Regions from separate parts of the Homo sapiens genome. Here all the other regions are linked to region 1. The links are contacts of gene promoters, found by promoter capture Hi-C in blood cells and fetal thymus (Javierre and others, 2016). All regions are on one chromosome and are shown on one strand. Each heading gives the region's core, a stretch centred on a gene start or on the middle of the fragment in contact. The rest is flanking DNA. Distances are from core to core; before and after follow the strand shown.

The links. Contacts are between HindIII fragments. The CHiCAGO score rates a contact against its expected background, and 5 or more counts as called.
Region 2: a contact is called between a fragment that was not itself captured here and the fragment with the promoter of UBE3C in region 1, in 7 of 17 cell types (total B cells, total CD8 T cells, total CD4 T cells and 4 more). The highest score is 11.5, in total B cells.
Region 3: a fragment that was not itself captured here is called in contact with the fragment with the promoter of UBE3C in region 1 in 6 of 17 cell types (total CD8 T cells, monocytes, total CD4 T cells and 3 more); the score reaches 11.2 in total CD8 T cells.

Annotation. Positions count from the first base shown.
Region 1 is chr7:157,137,676-157,141,216 of GRCh38, reverse strand. It overlaps UBE3C (ubiquitin protein ligase E3C), which reads right to left and starts at 2,291. Exons shown (of 23, transcript NM_014671.3): 1 at 1,879-2,291. The coding sequence starts at 1,944. RefSeq lists silencers at 1,660-1,729, 1,780-2,169, 2,450-2,799. The HindIII fragment of the contact is 7,086 bases long and covers 1-3,541 here.
Region 2 is chr7:155,006,327-155,010,185 of GRCh38, reverse strand. No RefSeq gene overlaps it. Among named protein-coding and RNA genes, the nearest start is that of PAXIP1-DT, 4.8 kb to the right of the region's middle. The HindIII fragment of the contact is 4,873 bases long and covers 1-3,859 here.
Region 3 is chr7:154,924,164-154,927,773 of GRCh38, reverse strand. No RefSeq gene overlaps it. Among named protein-coding and RNA genes, the nearest start is that of PAXIP1-AS2, 2.5 kb to the left of the region's middle. The HindIII fragment of the contact is 1,336 bases long and covers 583-1,918 here.

The DNA of each region.
Region 1 (3,541 bases), core at 1,042-3,541:
CTTAACCAGGCCAGGGCACCCATGCCCCAGCTGCTGCCAGTTCCTACTAAGGGCTCTTTACTGCCACTCTCTCCCAGAAGAATGGCCCTCGGCTCAGGGTTAGCAGTGCCACACTCCCACCCTCATCCCGGAGGGGCAGCAGCCTGCAGCCACCAACCCCTCTGCCGCAATTAGGGCCAATTGTAGCATGCTCCTGGTGAGATGGGGTTAACGCTAGCCTCCAGCTGAGACGCCTTTTCCTTCCCTACCCAGCTTCCCTCTCGCCCTTCCTCCTCAATTTCACTTGCACAAGGATCTCTTTAGTGTTTGTGAACCTGACTGTATCTTAAGTTATACCTCAATAAAAAGAGTTTTGTTTTTAAAGGGGTGATTCTTTTACACAGCTCGTGCTATCTTCCCTTGAGATTCTGATCAACAGTTAAGAAATCTCACTCCCTCAGAGCAGAGATGCACTCCTTGGTGAAAAGGGACCAACATCCGTGGCCCGTGGGGTGTTCCTGCCTGCAACAGAGGCCGCGCGGCGCTGTGTAAATGGCATGGAGTCTCAGATGGTCTGCCACTAGCTTGCTGTGTGAATGGGCACTCCTTCAAATGTTCTGCAGCTCACCTTCCGAACTTGTAAGCAAGGCGATTTGGCCCTGAGATTCTCTGAAGTCTCTCCTAACTGTAGAAATCCTTTGATCTCATAAAACATTTTCATTAACGTGGAAGACCCTAAGTGCTACCACGACCACCCTTAACTGCACAGTACTTAGTTCTGGAGCACAAGTGACTTCCAAGCAATCACCATCACACGAACCTCAAAGCTGAAAAATTATCAGCACACTTCTCTCCCAACTCTTTACCCAGGTTCCCTTCTAACCTCAGAAACCACCAAACACAGCCCCACAGCACAATCTTAATAACAGCAGTTCCTCCTTGGCCTGCCAGCACCCACTCTGCGTTATGTGCCTACCTGGTGGTTGTGATATACAGAATATACTGATAGACAAGAAAAACTAGGTGAAGCATTTTAAAGAACATTTCAGAAATGATGGGAAGGGGTGGGAAGGGAGGGGCGGGAACAAGACCACACAGTGTTCAACGACTTAGCGGTTCCAGTGAACCAACTGATGCCCGTCTTCAGGGACAGACAGCTAGAAATTCTAGACTAGAACAGAGGCGTCATGGTTTGCCTACCCTTATCCTAAACAATTACCATGCGAACAACTTAATGTCGATCACAACAGATGTAAGTCCGGAGTCTCTCCACAGTTTCCAGGAGGCTGGTGGCAAATAATTGCCCTCGTCTTGGATTCAAACACGTGGCTATTCATGAGACGTTCTGCCTCTACTTTAGAGATTATCGACATCAGCAAATGCGTGCCGTTCACCTTCTACAACCGAAAACGCCCTTCAGGTGGCATTCGAAAAGCAGCCACTCCCTGATGCCATGCGGGAGCGAGCATGGAAAGCGCATTTCTGAAAGGAAACACCCAGAAAGGGTAAGTTCACCTTGGGTGGCACAAAGCGTGCCAGGGTTCACCGGCCTCCTGCATGGAAGGGAGCCACGGCCAGCGCGCCCGGGTCCCGAAGCGCAGTGGACAGGCAAGGCCCCCACGGGCGCGGCCTCGAGTTCCAGCCAGGGAGGCCCCGAGTCCAGTCCTAAGCCCCAGCCAGAGTCCTGGCCCCAAGTCTCGGCTCCGAGTCCAACCCCGAGTCCCGGCCGGAGCGGCCCCGAGATCCGGCGAGGAAGCCCCGAGTCCCCGCCAGGGAGGCCCCGAATCCAGCCCCAAGTCTCGGCCCCGAGTCCAGCCCCGAGTCCAGCCCCGAGTCCCAGCCCCGAGCCCCGGCCGCGCAGGCCCCGAGCCGAGGGCGCCCCGCCAGCCCGGCCCTCACCTTCCTGCTCGCGCCGCCAAGGGACACCTTGGGCCGCGTCTTGAAGTCGCCTTCGAAGCTGAACATCCTGGCAGCCTAGCCCATGTGCGGGCAGCGCCGCCGCGGAAGCAGCCGGGCGGGCGGGGCACGGGGCGGGCTGGGAGGCTCTCGGCGCCCGCCCGCCCGGCCCGGGGCAGCGAGGACGCGGCGGCCGGGAGGCGACCCGAGCCCGCCCCCGGGCTGTACCCTCCCAGCCCTGCCCTGGGGCGGGAGGGGCGGCAATACTGGAGGGGCGGCCCTGCCTCGCCTGCCCCTCATCCACGCCGGCCACAGCTCGGGCCGCTGCAGGGGCGCCCAGCGGGCAGCAAACCCGGCGCTTGCACCTGGAACTGCCGCCTCGGGAGGGAAGATGGCGGTCAGCCGTCAGTGCGTGCGCGGCCCTGCAGACGTGCGCGGCCCTGCAGACGTGCGCGGCCCTGCAGACGTGCGCGGCCCTGCAGACGTGCGCGGCCCTGCAGACGTGCGCGGCCCTGCAGACGTGCGCGGCCCTGCAGACGTGCGCGCCTCCGCCATTGACGGCACGGCGCTCTTCCCGGCGGTTCCGCTAGCGTGCGCGGCCCCGCAAGGCGCGCTGGAGCCTGGGGAGGACGGCGGTGACGCGGGCTGGGCACGCGGCGGAGTGGGCGGGGCCTGGTGCGTGCTGGGGGAGCGCGGCGAGGGGCGCGGGAGGTGTTGGGTGCGGGGCAGGGTGCGGGAAAGGTGGAGTGCGAGGCACGGGCCGGGATGGGGTGCAGGGCAGGGTGCGGGGTGCAGGGTGGGGTGCAGGGGCCGGCACCCGGAGCGGGCTGGGAGCGGCCAATCTGGTGCCAGACTCGAGTGAGGCGGGAAAGGAGCAGCTAGGCCCAGCCCGTCTGTTTACATCCCACCTGTTCTATGTCTATGACACGCACAGACGGACGTAAATATTTACCATGTACACAGACATGCGCAGATTTGCCTCATACATAGCACACATATGCATCTATAGATACAGCATCAATACATATAAATATGTATCATGTACACATACCTGTGTATGCAAAAATATTTGCTCCTGGACTTACCATGGGGCTTTGTCCTGATAAACCCATCGTAAGATGAAAATATTGTAAGTTGAAAATGTATTTAATGCTACAATAAACCCATCACAAAGTCAAAAAATTGTAAGTTGAGCCATTTTAAGTTGGGGACCACCTATACATAAACATGTGTCTTATATCCACACATACGTATACATAATATCTCATATACATGTGCATATACATATATATCATACACGATTGAAACCAATTTCTAAAAATTGATTTTTGGTTGTATACAAGGTGTGCAACATGATGATTTCATAGAGACATTGTGAAATGACTACCCTCTTTGTGTGTGTGTGGTAAGAGTACATAAAATCTACTCTCTTAGCAAAATTTCAACACACAATACGATATCATCTACAGTCGTCCTGCGGCCGAGCACGGTCGCTCACGCCGGTAATCCCAGCACTCTGGGAGGCCAAGGCGGGCGGATCACCTGAAGTGAAAAGTTCGAGACCAGCCTGGCCAACATGGTGAAACCCCATCTCTAATAAAATACAAAACTTAGGCCGGTGTGGTGGTGCACGCCTGTAGTCCAAGCTACTCTGGAGGCTAAGGCA
Region 2 (3,859 bases), core at 339-2,838, 2.1 Mb after region 1:
ATTATGCTAAGTCTCAAATGCAACAACTTCCTCTGATGAGGTCTCAAGATCTTCATACGCTAGACACAGTCTATTATTTCTTATTACTCCCCATTTCTATCTTAAATCATCAGTTATTTAATATCCAAAATGTGCACCCTTTTATTTGGCAATATCAGTATTCTGGCCTCTTTTCAGTGGTTTCTCCTCTCCCTTCAAGAACTATTCCCCTCAGCCCGCTCCATCCAAGAGGTTTCCCCCAGCTATTCTGGCACATGGGAACCTCTTTTCTAAATCTCTGCTGCATTTCTACAGAATCCCACTAGTGTTAGGCTCGTGCATCCAAGTATTTGTTAGTTTTTTGAGAGCAGACACAATATTTTAAGAATTTCTCATTGTCCCTGTAAGAGTTTCCTGTCCATCACAACAGGGTCACCACTGGGGGCAGCACACTCAAATTACAATCATCTAAGAAGGTTTATCAAGGAACTACTTACAAAGGTGTAGGCAGGATGCATGGAGAGTGAAGGGACCTGTGGGGAGAAGCAGGTGAGCCCTCACCACCCTAGGTCCAAGGGATGAGAGGAAGGAAAGATTCCCAGGACCTGGAAGGAGAGAGTTGTATAGAATGGGCTCCTCTGCCAGCTCAAGGCAACCTGATGAGGAACCTGGGAAATAAACACCGTCATACCTCTCTCCTCCCTCCCCTCACTGCCCAGCTTTCTGCTGGGACTCCCCATTGACCAAATTCAACTAGAAGCCAATGTGCAAGGGATTCTACTTATATAATCTGCTCAGGTCAGCACCCAGGGGCGGAGAAAAAGGTGGAGCAGGATGGAGTACAGATCTGACATGGGGAGTGGGACAAATGGAAGGCATCTAACACATCCCTCACATGCCTCAGAGAACTACCTTGTGTTTGCTTTTTAAAAATAATGCTGTTTCTTTGTTGTTTGTTTTTGAGATAGACTCTCACTTTGTGGCCCAGACTGGCATGATCTCAGCTCACTGCAACCTCTGCCTCCCAGGTTCAAGCGATCCTTGTGGCTCAGTCTCCTGGGTAGCTGGGATTCCAGGCGTGCACCACCATGCCTGGCTAATTTTTTTGTATTTTCAGTAGAGATGGGGTTTTACCATTTGGCCAGGCGGGAAAAAGAATACGCTTAATCCTCTATGTATAAAGCCAGTAACCTCAAATTCAACAAATATCTATTGAGTAGCTAACGGGTATTTTTTTTGAAATTATCTTTGAGAATTTTGTTTTATATTACACTAATCTTAATTCATATAAGAATTTTTTTGAAAACCAAAAATGGCAAAAATTGGCAAGATACCATCAATGCCATTTTCTTTTCTTGGACGTGTAAGAAGACCACATCACCCAGCAGTCTCCTTTACAGCTTACGGAGGTGTCAGGAGACCAGGTTCTGGCCAGTGGAAATGGCTGGAGGTATGTGTGCCACTCTTGCTAGCTCAGCCATAGAAACTGCAGCAGGATACTCTACATGCTTTGTCCCCATCTGTACAGCTAACAAAGCCACATGACAGAAGCCAAGTCCCATTTGGAAGAAAGCTGTCCGAAGGAAGCCACCAAGGCGTTATGTGCAAGAAACTTTCTTTTTCGTTTTTTTTTGAGACAGAGTCTAGATCTGTCACCCAGGATGGAGTGCAGTGGTGCAATCTTGACTCAATGCAACCTCCACCTCACCGGTTCAAGCCATTCTCGTGCCTCAGCCTCCCGAGTAGCTGGGATTACAGGTGCGCACCACCATGCTCAACTAGTTTTTGTATTTTTAGTAAGAGATGAGGTTTCACCATGTTAGCCAGGCTGGTCTCGAACTCCTGACCTAAGTGATCCACCTGCCTCGGGCACCCAAAGTGTTGGGATTACAGGCATGAGCCACTGTGCCCGGTGGAAACTTTCAAAGTCTTATCCCACTGAAATGTAGTTACAACATGATCTTAATCCGGGTTTCTCAACAGTGGCACTATTGACATTTTGCACGGGTCCTTTGTCATGGAGGACGGTCCCATGCGTTGCGTGATGTTTAGCAGCTTCCTATCCTCCACCACTAGATGCCAGTAGCATCCCCTACCCCCTAGTTGTGACAACCAAAAATGTCTCCAGACGTTGTCAAATGTGCCATAGGGGGCTAAATTGCCCATGGTTGAGAATCGCTGATCCTGTTACCGCACTGTTCTCAGAGTGACGGGAGACAGGTATGGGACGTCGTTTCTAACCTTAAAGGATGGAACATTATAATACGTTATACATGTATTTTAAGATGATTGCTTCATTGGAGTACTGTAATTGTTAAATTGGAAACAACAAATGTGCAACAATACAGAATATTGTACATTCAAACAAGGGAGTATTATGTATTCATTAAATGATATAGATATTTATTGACATGGAAAAACAGTCTTGATTTTTTTGAAGTGGCAGAGTATGGGGTATAATTTTTTTTAGGGAAATATATTTATACGGGACAATGTCTAGAAGGATTTCCATAGTGGTTGCTTCTGGGCATAGAATTTGAGGTAATTTACAATTTCTCTTCACTTGTGATTTCTAGTTTTCCGACACTGAATAGCTACATGACACTGGTGGCAGCTGTGCCCCGCAGGTCCACTGACGGGATCTTTCCTGCAGAGAAGCAGTGCTCCTTTGAGTTCGCAGTTTCTCCTTCAACTAAACTATGGCCTGTTTGTGCCTGCAACTGGAGTATTCTGACCCTTTCATGAGAAGGTTAAATGTTGTCTATAAACCCAAACTGAAGGTTTACTAAACATTAAAAATATCTAATTTTAAGGGATGTATGGATAGCTGAACAGGAGAGATGAAGACTGAGACTGTTGTATACAATATAGAAATACATTTAAAAAAAGCCATTTGGAAATAATCTAAGTAACTGCCTCGAGTTTCCACCAGTAAGGGCAATTTGAGTTAAATATCCCCAAATCTACTTTTTTTTTTCTAATTTTTTATTTTTCCTAGGCTTAGGTTATCTAATTTTGCCAAATAGAAAATGAGAAACATATTTACTGAACTAGCACTGGCAGTAAGCAGGCTGTTTAATTCTCCAAAGGCTGATTATCAACAAAATGATCATGCTTTTAATTTACCTGGGGGAAGTCTAAAAATATTAATGCTCAGTGTCATATTTGGAAGTGGTATATGCTTCAAATTAAACAAATGCATAGCTTCTGTTTAATAAACTGATAGCTATCACCCTAAAATGGGTCATCCTTAAAGTGTCACAAAACCAGTGATAAGAATTTTATTTAACTGTGAATAAGATACAGCACTGTCAACATGATATTTTGTTCCTATAACTTTGCATATGGCCATTTTGGGGAAGATAATTTCTGAGTTTACCGCTTGCCTTTAAATATTGACTTGCCATCTTTACGTCCTCTGCTAGATGGGTTACTCTTCATGATGTCAGGATGCTAGTTTTTTAGACTGCCTCAGAGCATCCTTTATCCACATGAAATTAACCTAATGTAAACATTTTTATTTTTCATTACTGGCCAAGCAGTAGTATTGGAGACTCAGTGAGTGAGTGTGACACTGCCTCCAGGCCTTCCTGATGCTGTTGCCGTAAGATCCACTTGTGTGGACCGCCTTGCACAGTTCACGTGTGATATTTTACAAATACTGACTAGGTGATGGGGTTTTAAATAGCAGATTTATTTATTTATTTAGAGTCTCACTCTGCCACCTAAGCTGGAGTGCAGTGGTGTGATCTCTGCTCTCTGCAACCTCTGCTTCCCGGGTTCAAGTGATTCTCCTGCCTCAGCTTCCCAAGAAGGTAGGATTACAGGTGCACGCCACCATGCCCAGCTAATTTTTGTTTTTAGTAGAGACTGGCTTTCA
Region 3 (3,610 bases), core at 1-2,500, 2.2 Mb after region 1:
AATGCACCTTTGGAAACTCCAGCGGGGTTTATGTACAAGACTTATGGCGCCACCTCCTGTCGATAGTTGGAGAAATGGTCTTATTTGACCTAAGAAGATCCTAAATTACAATGATCAAAGAGAATTATCTTTGAAATAGCTAGATTAGTTTATTTATATGCACAATTTTAAAAAGCCAGCTATGGAATCAAATAAAATAATTAAGAGAGTTACTTCCAATGGCACCCAGAAGCATCCAAAAGAGGTTTTGACAGAATTCTTCCCTTAGAGGAAGAAAATAAAAAGCACTCTAAAACCATTACTGAATTTTAAAAAACACTGAAATGTCTTCTTCTCTCCCTGCTCCCCTGTCTCTCTAAGCCTCCTTGTCAGAACTACCCAGCCCTGATTGACCTTCTCCTCCTCCTCCTCCTGCCCCTCCTCCTGCTCCCACTGGTTTGGCTCCATTTCATCCAGCATCTGGTAGAGGGGAACCTGCTTTATCAATCATGATCAAACTTACAGGCATAGTTAAAAGAATTCCTTGATCTTCACCAGGTTCCTATTGGTTTTGCTAGGAAATTTGAATTAAATATCCAAGCTTATGACCCTAGTTATTCTGACTTCTAGCAACAGATTCACATGTTAGTAGCAAAAATTAAAGCTAAAGGCTGGCTAGACAAAGCTCACTGGAGAAATCTGTTAGGGATCTTCATAAATGTTCAGAAGAGGACCATAGACAGGCTTGAAGAACAGCAAAGGCTTTGCATCAGGCTATCTCCTCAGTTTTTCAGAGTAGTCAACTGGAACAAAATACAATATCAACAAAATTCAGATGAGTCAGTAATATACTTTGAGGGCTGTGGAAAAAATTTTAAAGAATATTTAGTTTTATCCGAAGAAAGCTGTGCTAATCATCGAAATGATACTCGACTCCAGTTTAACAAATGAGTTAGATGAATTGGAACTAACAATGAAAAGACAAAGTTGGGCCACTTCTGATACTCATGATTTGGTCAGTCTCATTGACCGGTTATCTGATACCTTAACTGAAGAAGAAAGAGAGAGGGAAGCCAAACAAAAGAGCGAGGCTAATACAATTATGAATTTACAATTAAAACAACTATTCACACAATTTTGGCCTTCACAATACCCCTAGAAACTCCCTAATGGACCTAACCTTCCACTTTGCAATTTTTGCAAAAAGCATGATTACTTTCAAAAGAGTTGCCAAAAATGAAAAAGGAAAGAATGTTAACCAGTGGAGGCAGAAAAGAAAACAGGGGTGCTCCAAGGAACTTAAAGGGGCCTTTCATTTCCTCCTTACTAACACTGGGAGAAATAAAAATTATTATAAATGGAGAACTAACACAAGCACTTATTGACACTGGAGCCACATTATCTGGAATTAATCCCATCTTGGTACAAGGTCCCATTCCTTGCAGTAAACAAAGAATTCAAATGGTGGGCATCACAATCCTCCTGTATTGGCATACCAATCTCAGCCTGTAACCTTTCAACAGTGTTCGTTACAAGGAACTCATGCCCTCCTCTTTGTTCCATCAGACCCCATCCATTCAACAGGAAGAAACTGCTTAGAATTATGTGATACCCACATTTCTTTCTCTCAAAGGAAGGAAATATATTTAAAATTAGATTATAAAACTCAACTTTGAGACACAACAGATATTTTAATAAAATTTTCAAAATCTAATCCAATTGCAATCCATATTGCCATGAAAGACAATGAATTATTGCTTAATGAAGAATTACAAAATGTACTAAAGACAGTACTTGATCCATTGTGGTCAGTGTCCTCCATTGATATAGAAACTATCATCTCAGCTACTCCAATAAATATTTAAATATACCCATGGAAACATCTTCAAAATACAAGACAATACCCCTTGAGAACTAAAGCTCTAGGAGGGATAAAGCTTATAATGTCAGATTATATAGAAAGATGACTGTTCATTCCTTGTACAAGCCATTGTAATACCCCAATCCTCCTGGTAAGAAAACCAAATGTTAGAGAATGGAGGTTTGTACAAGACTTGAGAGCAATAAACAACATGGCAATCCCATGGCACCCTATACTGCACAAGCCTATGTTACTCACAGCCATTCCTTCTAATGTGGAATTCCTTACAGTCATAGACTTATGTAGTACATTCTTTAGCATTCTTGTAGACAAAAATAGCCAATTTCTCTTTGCCTTCACTTGGGAAAACAGACAATACACTGGGTCACACAGGCCTCCAAGGATATGCTGAAAGCCTGACTTACTTTTCAAAAATATTAAAAATAGGCCTCTCAGATGTTAATTTCCTGGAAATGCATACATTAATCCAGTAAATAAATGACTTCCATCTTGGAGAGCAAACAAGATGTTCTGTGAATGATGGGCTACATTTATTACAAAAGGCAGCCCTAAGAAAACAAAGTCTCTAAAGAGAAACTTCAATTTTGTCGAAGACAAGTGATATACTTAGGCCACCTAATATCCAAGGAAGGATGTTTTATTAATTCAGACAGACTAGAAAGGATCTCAGCTTTTTACAACCAAGAATGAAGAGATGGTTGAGTGGGATTTTAGGACTGGCAGGATATTGTAGAAATTGGATTCCAAATTTTTATTTAAAAGCCCAATCCTTATATGCCCTCCTTTTTGTTTTTAAGACAGAGTCTCACTTGGCTAATTTTTGTATTTTTACTTGAGACGGGGTTTCACCATGTTGGCCAGGCTAGTCTTGAACTCCCGACCTTCATTGATCCACCCATCTTGGCCTCCCAAAGTCCTGGGATTACAGGCATGAGCCACTGCGCCCACCTTCCTTATATGCCCTCTTAATAGAGAACTTTAAACCCTCTAGACTGGATAAAAGAAAGTCAACTAACATTAGAAATGACTAAGAATGGTCTTGCCAATGCCTCTTCTTTGGGGCATGTAAATTATAACCTCACATTTTCATTGTTTGTACATGAAAATGATGGAAATGCTTTAGATAATCTGACTCAGAAACATGAAGGCTGAAATAGACCTGTAGGGCATTACAGCCAACAGTTAGGCCCGGTAGCCAAAGGATTGCCTCTTTGCATGAGAGATATAACAGCAACCACCTTGTTCATTAAGATGACCCAAGGAACTGTGGTGGGAACTCCCCTTACTGTTTTTATCCCTCATTCTGTGGAAGCATCACTAAACTCACACCACACTGGACATTATTCAATTAGTAGACGAGCTTCACATGAGTTTTACTTCTTTCAGCTTCTCCTATCACCATCTCCAGGTGTAACCTAAATCCTGACACTCTTCTGCCTTCATTTTCAGATGAAACACTGCATAATCACATAGCCCCAGTTGATTGGCTCCTCTTTCCTAGGACTGACTTGCAAGAGACTCCACTGATTAATGCTGATGTTGTTTGAGTTACAGGCAGCTCTTATTTAAAGGATGGATCAGGGACTTACCGAGCAGGTTACACAACAGTATCTTCAACTGAAGAAATAGAAAGGCTTACCTTCCAGAAGCCACCTCACATCAACAAGCAGAATTGCATTGATCAGGGTTTGTCAGTTGGCGAAAGGAATAATTGTTGATAATATTCATTACTAATATTCAGTAAATATG